Linked DNA regions of Homo sapiens: regions 1, 2 and 3 are each linked to region 4. Evidence: promoter capture Hi-C in human tissues and cell types (Jung and others, 2019). All regions are on one chromosome and are shown on one strand. The core of a region is centred on a gene start or on the middle of the fragment in contact, and the rest is flanking DNA. Distances in the headings are between cores, read along the strand shown.

Region 1 (2,852 bases), core at 29-2,528, 290 kb after region 4:
TCTGGTGGGGTTCAAGATCTGCAGGTCCCACCTTCCAGGGAACACCTGCACAAGTGAGACCTGCCCGATCAGCCCCGCGCTCCATCCGCAAACTGGGCAGATCCCAAGGGTGCCACGCGAGGACCCTGCACCTTGGCCGCTCCAGGGCGCCCCCCACCCGCGACCCCGGAAATCTCGCCCCTACCTGCTTCACCCTCGCCCCACCCACAGCGCACTTTTCGGGACCTCCCAGCGGCCCTTCCCCGGTTCTCTGGACCCCCGTCTCCCCGCCCTGCAACGCCCCCATCCTGGTGCCCACGAAAGGTCGTCCCAGTTCCCCTCTTCTCTACCTCAAAGGAGGAGGTGCAAATGAGGAAGCCTAAATAAAAACAGGAAACTCGATTTTTTTAAAAAGCCTCATTCAGGCTGAATTACGGGTAAGAGTATTTTTTTAAAAAGTCCGGAAATGCAAAGCTGGGGGCGGTTTTGCCGGCGTAACCCCGGCTCGGCCGCAGATCCGGAGCTGATCTCGCCTGCGCCGCTGCAGCAAACGCGGCGAGCAACGCGGGAGGCCCGGGACTGGGAGGCGGGGCGCGGGTCCACGAGCCGGGAGGAAGCCCCGAAAACTTCCACCCCGGCCCCTCTGCAGCCCCGCTCCCCACTTGCCCAGGCTGGGAAGGGCGCACAGGACCCGGGCGCCGGCGAACTGTGCGCAGCCCTCTCTCCGCGCCAGGGCACTCGGGCGACATCACCAGCGCGCTCTCTGTGGACCCCGCTGCCGTACAGAGGAGGCCCCTGGTCCTCTAGTCAGCGCTCGGAGCGGGCGCACGCGCTGAGCGCTTCCAGTATCCTCGCGCCTCAGCCGGCGCACCGGAGGCCGCACCGCCGCTGTGAGCGCAGCTGAAACCCCGCTGCCGGGCCAGGCGGGCAAGGCGCGCAGTGCAGGCGCCGGGGAGCTGCGCACGCCCCTCTCGGCGGGCCCACGGGGGACGGCCCCGGGCCTCTAGGGCAGCCCCCGCCCAGGTCCCAGCAGCCCGGCCCCCGGGGCTCCCAGGACCCGGCTCGCTAGACTCGGGGAGGCGCCCAGGGCCAGGGCGCACGGGCTGTGTGTGCCGGAGAGACGCCCGCCAGCCAGCCCCGCGCCCCCGAGCGCAGCCGCAGCTCCCAAAGCCCCTGGCCGCGGTCCTCTTCCCACCTCCCCTGACGCAGCCAGCGGCGATCGCTTACCGTCCCGGCGCAGCTGGCAGGGCTGGGCGGCTCTGCTCGCGGCCGCTCGGAGCGACTGCGCTGGGCGCGAGTGAGCCTCGAGGGAGGGAGGCGGGGCGCGCCGGGGCGCCCCGCCTGCCGCCAACCCGCACACTCCACTTCCCACTTTGTTTCCTTTTCACTTGCAACAGGAAAAACAACAGGTCCTCCAGGGCCTCGCCTTCCCCCGCCGCCCACACTCCCCAGTTCGCCTACCGCTAGAGGGGCATCATCCCAGGTGCCTCTGGAAGCTGCACCTTGCTTGCCCTTCTACAAAACAAGTTTTCTTTTTATGCAAAGGAAAACAACGAAATAAAGGTCCTAGGCGCCTTTAAGCGCTCCGCCTTCACGCAGGAAAGAATTTCAGCAGGAGCGGGAGAAAGGCTGAGAGCAGGAGAAGAAGAGGGGGTAACCTGCAGCTCTAGGCACCCAGGGACCCCAAGCGCCATTGCGAGGTGACCAGTGTTGGGGCTCAGGACACACACCCAAAATGTGACTATGGGAGACCAGCGTGTGCCACCCCAAAATATACTTCTTCGCCATATTTTGAAGGGATTATTCTTAGAAACTGCAGGCACAGGAGTAGATCTGAAAAGCTGTCCTTTTGTAAAATGATTTCTATCTATAAAGAAAATCTCCAGGCCTGGCACTGTGGCTCACTCCTGCAATCCCAGCAATTTGGGAGGCCGAGGCGGGAGGATCACTTGAGCCCAGGAATTCAAGCCAGCCTGGGCAACATAGGGAAACCCCCGTCTCTACAAAAAAATTAAAAATTAGCCAGTCGTGGTGGTGCACACCTTGTAGTCCCAGCTACTCGGGAGGCTGAGGTGGGAGGATGGCTTGAGCCAGGGAAATGGAGGCTGCAGTGATCCATGATGGCACCACTGCACTCCAGCCTGGGAAACAAAGTGAGACCCTGTCTCAAAAACAGAAAAGAAAAGGAAAATCTCCATTGGTAAAGTATTAGTATCAGGCGGAGGGCTGCTCAGAGCTAACTTTTCTTACCTGAGAAATTTTATCCGCATAAGAAGACAAGCTTCATTCACCTTACCCTCTCTCCCCTCACTCTCCCTTAACTTGTGTACCACCTCCCCAGGATCCCAAGCCTCTATTCCTTTTTTTCTTTTCTTTTCTTTCTTTTTCTTTTTTCTTTTCTTTTTTTTGAGACAGTCTTGCTCTGTTGTCCAGGCTGGAATGCAGTGGTGCCATCTCGGCTCACTGCAATCTCTGCATCCTGGGTTCAAGCAATTCTCCTACCTCAGCCTCCCAAGTAGCTGGGATTACAGGCACACGCCACGACACCCAGCTGATTTTCATGTTTTTTTGTTTGTTTTTTGTTGTTTTGTTTCTTTGTTTTGTTTATTTTGAGGAATCTTGTTCTGTTGCCCAGGCTGGAGTGCAGTGGCGTGATCTTGGCTCACCACAGCCTCAGCCTCCTGGGTTCAAGCAATTCTCCTGCCTCAGCCTCCTGAGTAGCTGGGACTATAGGTGCACACCACCGTGCCTGGCTAATTTTTGTATTTTTAGTAGAGGTGGGGTTTCGCCATGTTCACCAGGCTGGTCTTGAACTCCTGACCTCATGATCCACCCGCCTCAGGCTCCCAAAGTGCTGGGATTACAGGCGTGAA
Region 2 (2,795 bases), core at 51-2,550, 510 kb before region 4:
GGTGGCGGGTGCCTGTAGTCCCAGCTACTCGGGAGGCTGAGACAGAAGAATGACCTGAGCCCGGGAGGTGGAGCTTACAGTGAGCCAAGATCACTTCACTGCACTCCAGCCTGGGTGGCAGAGGGAGACTCTGTCTCAAAAAAAAAAAAAAAAAAAAAAAGACGGGCTGCCCTTCAACAGGTGCTGCTTACATCAAGGTAAGTATCTCCCCTGAGCTTCCCAGTCTGAGGAGTTTCCTAAAGCCTGGAATCCTTTGCTGCCAGCCCTGAAATAGGAAAGCTGTGAGTGTCTGTTGTCCTTCATTCCTCCTCAGCAGTTAGGGAGCTGTTCTGGTGCCAAATCCTGGACAAAATAACAAGAGCATGAACTTGAAGTTGCCCAGGGCCTGATTACCCAGATCTACACACCTGACTCTACTGAACTACAGAAAAGGCCACCAAAAACCAGATGGTGGGAAATGACCATTTTACCCTGATTTATTAATCACAAGCATATTCATCTGGTCTAACATGCAGCTGATGCCAGTTAATGTCGTATGAAGTCCCCTGAACTAAGGTAGGCTTAGACTTGAATTTCCTGGCAGTAGCACTAGTAGAGCCTCATTATCCTACAGATAACTACTTAGTTAAAAGGTAAAATCCCCAATCTTAAAGTCTGTGTGGATGACCCCAATGTATTTTATTTTTTGAGACGGAGTCTCACTCTGTCGCCCAGGCTGGAGTGCAGTGGCACAATCTTGGCTCACTGCAATCTCTGCCTCCCGGGTTAAGGTGATTCTCCTGCCTCAGCCTCCTGAGTAGCTGGGATTACAGGTATGTGCCACCAAGCCCGGCTAATTTTTGGTGTTTTTAGTAGAGACAGGGTTTCACCACGTTGATCAGGCTGGTCTTGAACACCCGACCTCAGGTGATCCACCCAGCTCGGCCTCCCAAGGTGCTGGGATTACAGGTGTGAGCCACCACGCCCAGCCCCTATTTTATCTTATTTTACTATTATTTTTGAGACAGAGTCTCGTTCTGTCACCCAGGCTGGAGTACAGTGGCATGACCTCGGCTCACTACAACTTCCGCCTCCCAGGCTCAAGTGATTCTCGTGCCTCAGCCTCCCAAGTAGCTGGGATTACAGGGGTGCACCATCACGCCTGGGTAATTTTTGTATTTTTAGTCGAGACAGGGTTTCATCATGTTGGCCAGGCTGGTCTCGAACTCCTGGCCTCAAGTGATCTGCCTGCCTCAACCTCCCACAGTGCTGGGATTACAGGCATGAGCCACCGCGCCCTGCCGACCCCAATTTAAAAACTGAAAAACAATAAGCATGGCTTCTTTCTAGAAAAAATCTTTAAAAAAAACAAAGTTCTGGAAGGTTAGCTGGCCTTTCAGGCAGGCATCTTCCACCAGTGCACTGACCCAATTCCTGGTCTCCTAAAGCTGCTGTGTTTGGAAACGTGGATGCTATTAAGTCTCTTCCATCACATTATACTTTATTCAGCTAGTAATTATGAATATGAGCTCAGCTCGGCAGAAAACAACGGACGGTCAGCAGCCATTCTCAGGGAGTCCGCTCCCCTGGTGTCCAGAGAAGAGAATATTCCCGTGTCCTCCAGCCAGCCTTTGCTGGTTTTCCCAATGAAGTTTAGCATCGAAAAACCTTCATGGCCAGGCGCAGTGGCTCACGCTGGTAATCCCAGCACTTTCTGAGGCCAAGGCAGGTGGATCACCTGAAGCCAGGAGTTCGAGACCAGCCTGACCAACATGGAGAAACCCCGTCTCTACTAAAAATACAAAAATTAGCCAGGCGTGGTGGTGTGTGCCTGTAGTCCCAGCTACTTGGGAGGCTGAGGCAGGAGAGTCACTTGAACCTCGGAGGCGGAAGCCACAGTGAGCTGAGACCGTGCCATAGCACTCCAGCCTGGGCAACAAAAGCGAAACTCCATCTAAAAAAAAAAAAAAAAAAATTAGCCAGGCATGGAAGCGCATGCTGTAGTCCCAGCTACTCAGGAGGCTGAGGCAGGAGAATCACATGAACCTGGGAGGCGGAAGTTGCAGTGAGCTGAGACCGCGCCATAGCACTCCAGCCTGGGTGACAGCTAGACTCCGTCTCAAAAAAAAAAAAATTCTGTGGGTAGCCTTCATTCCTCCCAAAGCAAATCTGAAGCTATAATCCATGAAAAGAATTGCAACCCATTAAGCTACTAATTAAAACTGGTACATAACAGCAAGTTCGAGTATCAGTTTCACAGGCATGTCAGCAGGTTTTCTGTTTAATATGTTTTAAAATTAATTTCAGCTAAAACATGAGGAATAATCATTTTGCTCTTCGAGCCTGATATTAAAAATTTGCTTTTAATGTGAGGGAAATATTTTTTAAATTAGACAATTCATATCAATTCATAAACTGAAATAAGATGTTATTCTGAACTCTTAATTGTGTAGCCTTTAGCTATTTTATTTTAAATCAAAGACAGAGCTTCCCAGCACCATAATGAACATCAGAAGAAAAGCCCAGTGCCCGCACTCAGCACAGTCCAGTCGAACCACAAAAAAATCTTTATCAAAGATCTTCACTTTGGGTTCCAAATTACTCAAGACACGTCAGTATTGGGCATTATTGGAATTTAAATAACAAACACTTTTCAAATGACTTGGGAAGGAGGAGAGGAAAGATCACTGCTGCTTAATACATTTTATTCAGGTCTGTCATTACACTTGCGTGAGCATTCATGGGTGAGGTTTTATTTGCAGGAGGAGAAGGTCTTCCAGAAGAAGTTCCTGCAGGGCATTCTGTCCCGGCGCGCA
Region 3 (2,947 bases), core at 32-2,531, 350 kb before region 4:
AGGAGTCTTCTCTCGCTCAGCTCGTGCTTGTTCCGGGTGGTTAAAGCGGAAAACATGGTTTTTACCCATGATGATACGGTTTCCTAGCACAAAACAGAAAAATAGGGTTAAGAAATAATTTTTTTAATATATAGTATCTATTTAACAACCTCACCCCTCCCTAATGTGAAAAGACAGCTTTCAGAGCTGTTGTTTTTACAAGAACAAAAATCCTAATGCTGACTATTACTTCAGCCTTTAAACAGCCAAAAATTAGAGTTGTCACAGAAGCCATGTGCACATTGCTGAAGATGGCAAACCTCTCCCAGTCTCACCTGAGCGCAGCTGAACAGGCTGGGACACCCTCTTGCCATTTACGTAGGTTTCTGAGCGCTCACAGGGCTCTAAGGTCACGATAACTAAGAGGAACAAACACAAACTAATGTTATCATTACAAACTATTGGAATCAAATAATGGAAAGCAGTTGCTTATCAGGATTTGCAGTAAGTAGAATAAATCCCTGCAATCAATCAAGTGGCTGAAGTTGTCTATACAGTAGTTCATTTTGGGGTACCAGAACTAGCCCCAATAGAAGAGGCTATCTGTGGCCATGGCTAACACAAGAACATTTAACTCTATTTGATAAACCTAAGAAGATGATAGGAAATATTAGTTTCAGGGATCTCTGACGGTTCAGTCAATAAAACTCAGAACCATCAGAAATTGTAAGGATGAGATATAGGTAATAACCAGAAACTAAAGACTGAGAAGCTAATATTTTGATAAGGGAATGAGTGACTTATATAACAGAAAAAAACCATTAAATTGTTGTTTTGTTAATAACCCAGGCAAAAATCAAGACTGACTTTTTCTTCCCTTTTAGATAAAAATAAATTCTGCTGGGTTGACTTAATGTCCTTCAAATCTCCTATTACCCAGGATATCTGCTATTTTCTTACTTTTCTATTAAATAATTAACATTCCAGACCAAGCCTAATTGCCTATGTCCTTCTCAGTTCTTGGCAGTAAAAAAGGGCTTCTTTTGTCCAAGCTATTTTCATGTAAAGCAGCCTTGTCCATCTCTGCATTCATAAGCAGCCCAGGTCTCTCCATTTTTCAGAATTAGATTGTATAAGAAAGTACTACTGATAGACAGAGAATACAAAGTCTTAAGGATTTCTCATAATATAAAATGAAAATGTTGTTGCTGAAGCTCCAGCCAGGAATGCTCACCTTCCCCGCTGTTGCTTCTCTCACTCCGGAAGATACAATGCTCTTCTTTAATGTGAGCCCCGCTCAGCACTATGTCCTGGCGCCGCTCAGCATCTGCTTGGCCAACCCTGAACACAAGAGAAAGTGTTTCCCAGGGAAATTCAGACACAGAAAGCACTACAAACAATGAACCTCTTTATTCCAAAGAATATCCTTTGGTACGTACAAAAAAGGTATTGCCTTGTTGCATCAGAAGCTTTCAACTATGAATTCTATCCTCACATATGATCAACCTCTCTACATCAGAATAAGAAACAAGGAGCACTGATATACCAATGTAACTCATACAGTATTATAAAGACATGAGTCAAATAAAATCCCTAAGGAATGTATATTTGTTAAAGGAAAAAAAAATTATTTAGGGTCTTCAGAGAAAAACTACATAGTAACTGGCTCCAGTGGCAAAAACACATTATTTGGAAAGAGAGCATAGTTTGTAACTATTTCAGACAAAAAATACAGCAAATCATTACGTTAATTTTTTCAACCCCTTCCCTTTAGTTATTCAATTATCTAAGAGGGGGAAAACACACGAAGTGACCAAAACAGGAAATAAATATACCTTGTAATTCCATCTTTGATGTAATAAAGTAGGCACTCAGACATTAGTGGGTCTTCATTGAGGTTAACAAGATGTGGGGTCTGAAAAAGATTACAGATGATCAATTTGGAGCAGGGCACCATGAGAGAGCTGTGGTAACAACAGGGGCCTACAAGAGGCCAGGCTTCTCCAACTCTCCACAGAGCCTAGAGAGGGATTTCTTTTTATCCCTAGTTGCGGTTCCATAATAAAGAGAAAACACTCTCTTCAGGCCTCACCAAACGGAACCAAGTGCATTCTATTTTATTTTAATTAATTAATTAATTTGAGACAGAGTCTCGCTCTGTCTAGAGTACAGCGGCATGATTTTGACTCACTGCAACCTCTGCCTTCCAGGTTCAAGTGATTCTCCTGCCTCAGCCTCTCAAGTAGCTGGGATTACAGGTGTTCGCCACCACGCCTGGCTAATTTTTCTATTTTTAGTGGAGGCAGGGTTTCACCATGTTGGCCAGGCTGGTCTCGAACTACTGACCTCAACTGACCCACCCTCCTTGGCCTCCCAAAGTGTTGGGACTATAGGAGTGAGCCACTGTGCCTGGCATTCCATTTTAAAACATGAGTTCTGGGATAAAAAAACAAGACCTAATTTTTGATAAGGTCAAAGCACAAGGAAAAAATGACAGGCCAATTCTCTGAACGGAATAATTATAATTTTTGTAAATGCCTGGGTAAAAATCTCAAGAAATATTTACTTTTATTAAAATGTCCCCATACCCCCCCACCACTTCCCACTATAATTTTTATCAGTTCTTCTGATCCCAGTTATTAATTTGTCTTTACCTTAAAAGATTTTAATTTATTAGTCTTTACCTTAAAGAAAAAAGTAAAATTACTGATATTCGATAAGATAAACATCTTCTAACAATCCTCTTCATCTAACTCTAATATTTCTAAAATCTTTTTAAAAAACCAACCTTCTTTAGTGAAAATAACCCACTGGAATCCAAAAATAAGTCACATGGTCTTGAGGCCAAAATCTACTCAAGAGAGTGCCAGCAAATGTGGAAGAATGAAAGAAGAGTCAGATGAGGGGGTAGGAAAAGGAACTATAAAAGATGGTTAAAGAGAAATCTGAAAAACCTCCACATCTTCTC
Region 4 (3,203 bases), core at 50-2,549:
TTCAGACTCCAGGCCTGTCGGTGGCTTGTGCCAATCACCACAACACTTTGAGGGGCCAAGGCCAGAGGATCGCTTGAGCCCAGGAGTTCAAGGCTGCAGTGAGCTATGATCACACCACTGCACTCCAGCCTGGGCAACACAGCTCTTGTTTTTTAACAAGACATTGTTACTTAAAAAAAAACTGCCCTGATGAAACAATTCTACCATGAACACTGATGTTGTTCTGTGGACTACTTCAGGAAGATGGACTAAGAACATCATTAAATAGTTCCAACCAGTTTCTGGGTAATTTTATTTTTAATTTTTTGTTATGAGGGTCTTGCTATGTTGCCCAGCCTGGGCTCAAATGATCCTCCCACCGCGGGCTCTCAAAGTGCTGGGTTTACAGGTGTCACACCGCGACAGCCAAGGGTAACTTTTTTTTATTTTTATTTTTGAGATGGAGTCTCGAACTGTCGCCCCGGCTGGAGTGCAATGGCGCGATCTCGGCTCACTGTAACCTCCGCCTCCAGGATTCAAGCGATTCTCCTGCCTCAGCCTCCCGAGTAGCTGAGATTACAGGCGCCCACCACCACGCCCAGCTAATTTTTTGTATTTTTAGTAGAGACGGGGTTTCACTATGTTGGCCAGGCTGGTCTCGAACTCCTGACCTCGTGATCCGCCTGCCTCGGCCTCCCAAAGTGCTGGGATTACAGGCGTGAGCCACCGCGCCCGTCCAAGGGTAACTTTTTAAGAGCTGCCCTACAGCTCATTACCTCCTTCTCAAGGAGCATGAGTGTCAAACCACCTCCAGCAAAGTAGATGTAGTCTTTTACAGATTTGGAAAGAAGGATTTAGGAGGAAAGGGAAGTCGTTCGGAATGAAGGATTTCCTCCTCTGACGCCCAGCCGTCCCCCGTTAAGCCTAAAGGTGCCAGACCTCAAGACTCTTCTAGAAAGAGATTTTTCCTTTCCAAGGTGAATCCATCTGTTCCGAAGGTCAGAAGCTATTTTACCGAAGTTTTCCGTTCCACTGAAAAAATTAAGGGTCAATCAAAGCTCCTTGCCCCAAACCTGAATATGAGCTTGCCTCGGGTCATATTCGACTCTAAAGACTCCACCACACCATCCTGGACTCCCCTATATCTAGGACAAAAAGCGACCAGTTTCTCAGGGGCTCCTTGCGGGGAGCTTACCGCGCCCTCACTGTCCGCCGGCCCGAGTGCTACCGGAGATCACCAGCGGCCCGGACGCCAGCGAGTGGAACATCTCGGTCGCACTCTCATTGGTTCCAGGGGGCCGGAAGTGCGTGCGTCCAGCGGAAGTGCTCCCCCGGCGCGGTCCGCCAGGCCAGTGCCCTCAGGTAGGCGGGGCCCCTGGCCCTAAACTCTGGGACTGGCGGGCGGTCAGGCGGCACAGGGGGAATCCCGGGGGCCTAAGGAGGTTGTCCCAGTTTTTGTCAGGTAGGCCCGGAAGGAGTTTCGGGGACCATGGGTTTACGGCTACCTCTGGTGGCAATTGGGGCCTGTTGGAGCCCGGCCGCCGCGGGACCTACGTGCCGGACTTCAAGTTCCCGCGTGGGGTGGGATTTGCTGCGGTGGCCGGAGCTGATTCTTCACCCAGTCCTGTTGGTTCTGGGCCAAACCCTCCTCACTTTCAAGGAAGAGGCGTGCTCTCCGCCCTTACCTTTTCCAAGCCTCTGGGTTTGACGCCATCCCTCAAGGCGTGTCCGGATGCGGGATTTTCCTCAAAGACCCTCTCGGCCTCGCTAGGAAGAAACTCAGAAAGGCTGCGGTAGGCGCAGTCGAGGGGGAAAGTGCCCCCGCCCTTGATGTCTCAGGCTGCTCAAGTGGAAGTTATCTGGACTGCCTTAGGGCAAGTTTATATATAGCAAATAAAATTACTTGTTAATGGTTTCCTTTTTTCCAGCATCTCCACCCCGAGGTGGTTTGAACTTTGAGCCTTTTGTAGTCCTGATGAATAATTTCATTTTCCTCAAGTTTATGACACTCGGAACGTCAAGAACTGGAGGTTTGTGCAATTTGAGACCGGTCGGCACTGTGCAGAGATCAGAGTACTAAGAGACAGGTGAGCATGAATGAGGACCCTCCGCTCCAGATATAGTGTCTGAGAGCGGTTTCTGTAGTTTCGTAAAAGTGAAAAGTGCACCACATTTAGTGACTACTAGGTGGTGCCAACGAGTTAATCTTTCGGGGATAAATCTCAACTAATGTAGTACCAGGTTAAGGCTTTTAAAATGCACCCATTTTTACTGAAATGTATTCAGAATAGCTTTAGCTCCTTAAAATATGTTGAGCCTTTATATACGTGACCAAATTATCGACGTTCTATTCTGTATTAGGTACTGAGAAAGCTGAGAGAGGAATCAGACTCATATTCTGTTCTCCAGAGTTTAGTCAGAGGAGATAACGTATTATAATAAAATCATATATAATTAAAGGCAGAAATAAGTGCTAAATAGAGAATAAGATTTGAGCTGGGCGCGGTGACTCACGCCTGTAATCCCATCACTTTGGGAGACTGAGGCAAGTGGATCACCAGAGGTCAGGAGTTCAAGACTCGCCTGGACAACATGGTGAAACCCCATCTCTACTAAAAATACAAAAATTAGCCAGATGTGGTGACGCATGCCTGTAGTCCCAGCTACTGGAGAGGCTGAGGCAGGAGAATTGCTTGAACCCAGGAGGCTGAGGTTGCAGTGAGCCGAGATCGCGCCACTGCACTCCATCCTGGACGACAGAGCGAGACTCCGTCTCAAAAAAAATTTTAAAAAAAAAGATTTGAATGCTAAAGAAGAAGCAATCAATTCTCATTATTCATCTACCAGTTGTTTATTCGGCACTTTTTGTCTGTCCAAGATTGTGCTGGATGCTGGTGTATAAAGAAAAGGTAAAGGCCGGGTGCGGTGGCTCACGCCTGTAATCCCAGCACTTTGGGAGGCCGAGGCAGGCAGATCACGAGGGCAAGAGATCGAGACCATCCTGGCCAATATGGTGAAACCCGTCTCTCCTAAAAATACAAAAATTAGCTGGGCGTGGTAGTGCGTGCCTGTAATCCCAGCTACTTGGGAGGCCGAGGCAGGAGAATCTCTTCAACCTGGGAAGCGGAGGTTGCAGTGAGCCGAGATCGTGCCACTGCACTCCAGCCTGGCGACAGAGTGAGACTCCATCTCAAAAAAAAAAAAAAAAAAGGTAAAGGCTAGGC

The links. The method cuts DNA at HindIII sites, captures the fragments that hold promoters and counts their contacts. A contact is called where the count stands out against the background at its distance.
Region 1: a contact is called between the fragment with the promoter of PIK3CD here and the fragment with the promoter of LZIC in region 4, in 4 of the 25 tissues and cell types used here (IMR-90 fibroblasts, mesendoderm cells, neural progenitor cells and 1 more).
Region 2: a contact is called between a fragment that was not itself captured here and the fragment with the promoter of LZIC in region 4, in 1 of the 25 tissues and cell types used here (aorta).
Region 3: a contact is called between a fragment that was not itself captured here and the fragment with the promoter of LZIC in region 4, in 2 of the 25 tissues and cell types used here (hippocampus and mesenchymal stem cells).

What each region holds. Positions count from the first base shown.
Region 1 is chr1:9,650,157-9,653,008 of GRCh38, reverse strand. PIK3CD (phosphatidylinositol-4,5-bisphosphate 3-kinase catalytic subunit delta) reads right to left here and starts at 1,278. Exons shown (of 24, transcript NM_005026.5): 1 at 1,207-1,278. PIK3CD-AS1 (PIK3CD antisense RNA 1) reads left to right here. Exons shown (of 2, transcript NR_027045.1): 2 at 1-399. RefSeq lists an enhancer at 226-295 and a silencer at 476-1,365. The HindIII fragment of the contact is 15,008 bases long and covers 1-2,852 here.
Region 2 is chr1:10,451,532-10,454,326 of GRCh38, reverse strand. CENPS-CORT (CENPS-CORT readthrough) reads right to left here. Exons shown (of 4, transcript NM_199006.3): 4 at 2,174-2,795. It overlaps CORT (cortistatin), which reads right to left. Exons shown (of 2, transcript NM_001302.5): 2 at 2,329-2,795. The coding sequence ends at 2,732. Among named protein-coding and RNA genes, the nearest start is that of CORT, 2.9 kb to the right of the region's middle. The HindIII fragment of the contact is 5,212 bases long and covers 1-2,795 here.
Region 3 is chr1:10,294,033-10,296,979 of GRCh38, reverse strand. KIF1B (kinesin family member 1B) reads right to left here. Exons shown (of 49, transcript NM_001365951.3): 18 at 1,815-1,894; 19 at 1,214-1,320; 20 at 315-398; 21 at 1-83. Among named protein-coding and RNA genes, the nearest start is that of KIF1B, 85 kb to the right of the region's middle. The HindIII fragment of the contact is 6,454 bases long and covers 1-2,947 here.
Region 4 is chr1:9,941,487-9,944,689 of GRCh38, reverse strand. LZIC (leucine zipper and CTNNBIP1 domain containing) reads left to right here and starts at 1,299. Exons shown (of 8, transcript NM_032368.5): 1 at 1,299-1,441; 2 at 1,908-2,066. NMNAT1 (nicotinamide nucleotide adenylyltransferase 1) reads right to left here and starts at 1,215. Exons shown (of 5, transcript NM_022787.4): 1 at 1,175-1,215. RefSeq lists enhancers at 1,130-1,699, 967-2,166, 1,700-2,270. The HindIII fragment of the contact is 33,243 bases long and covers 1-3,203 here.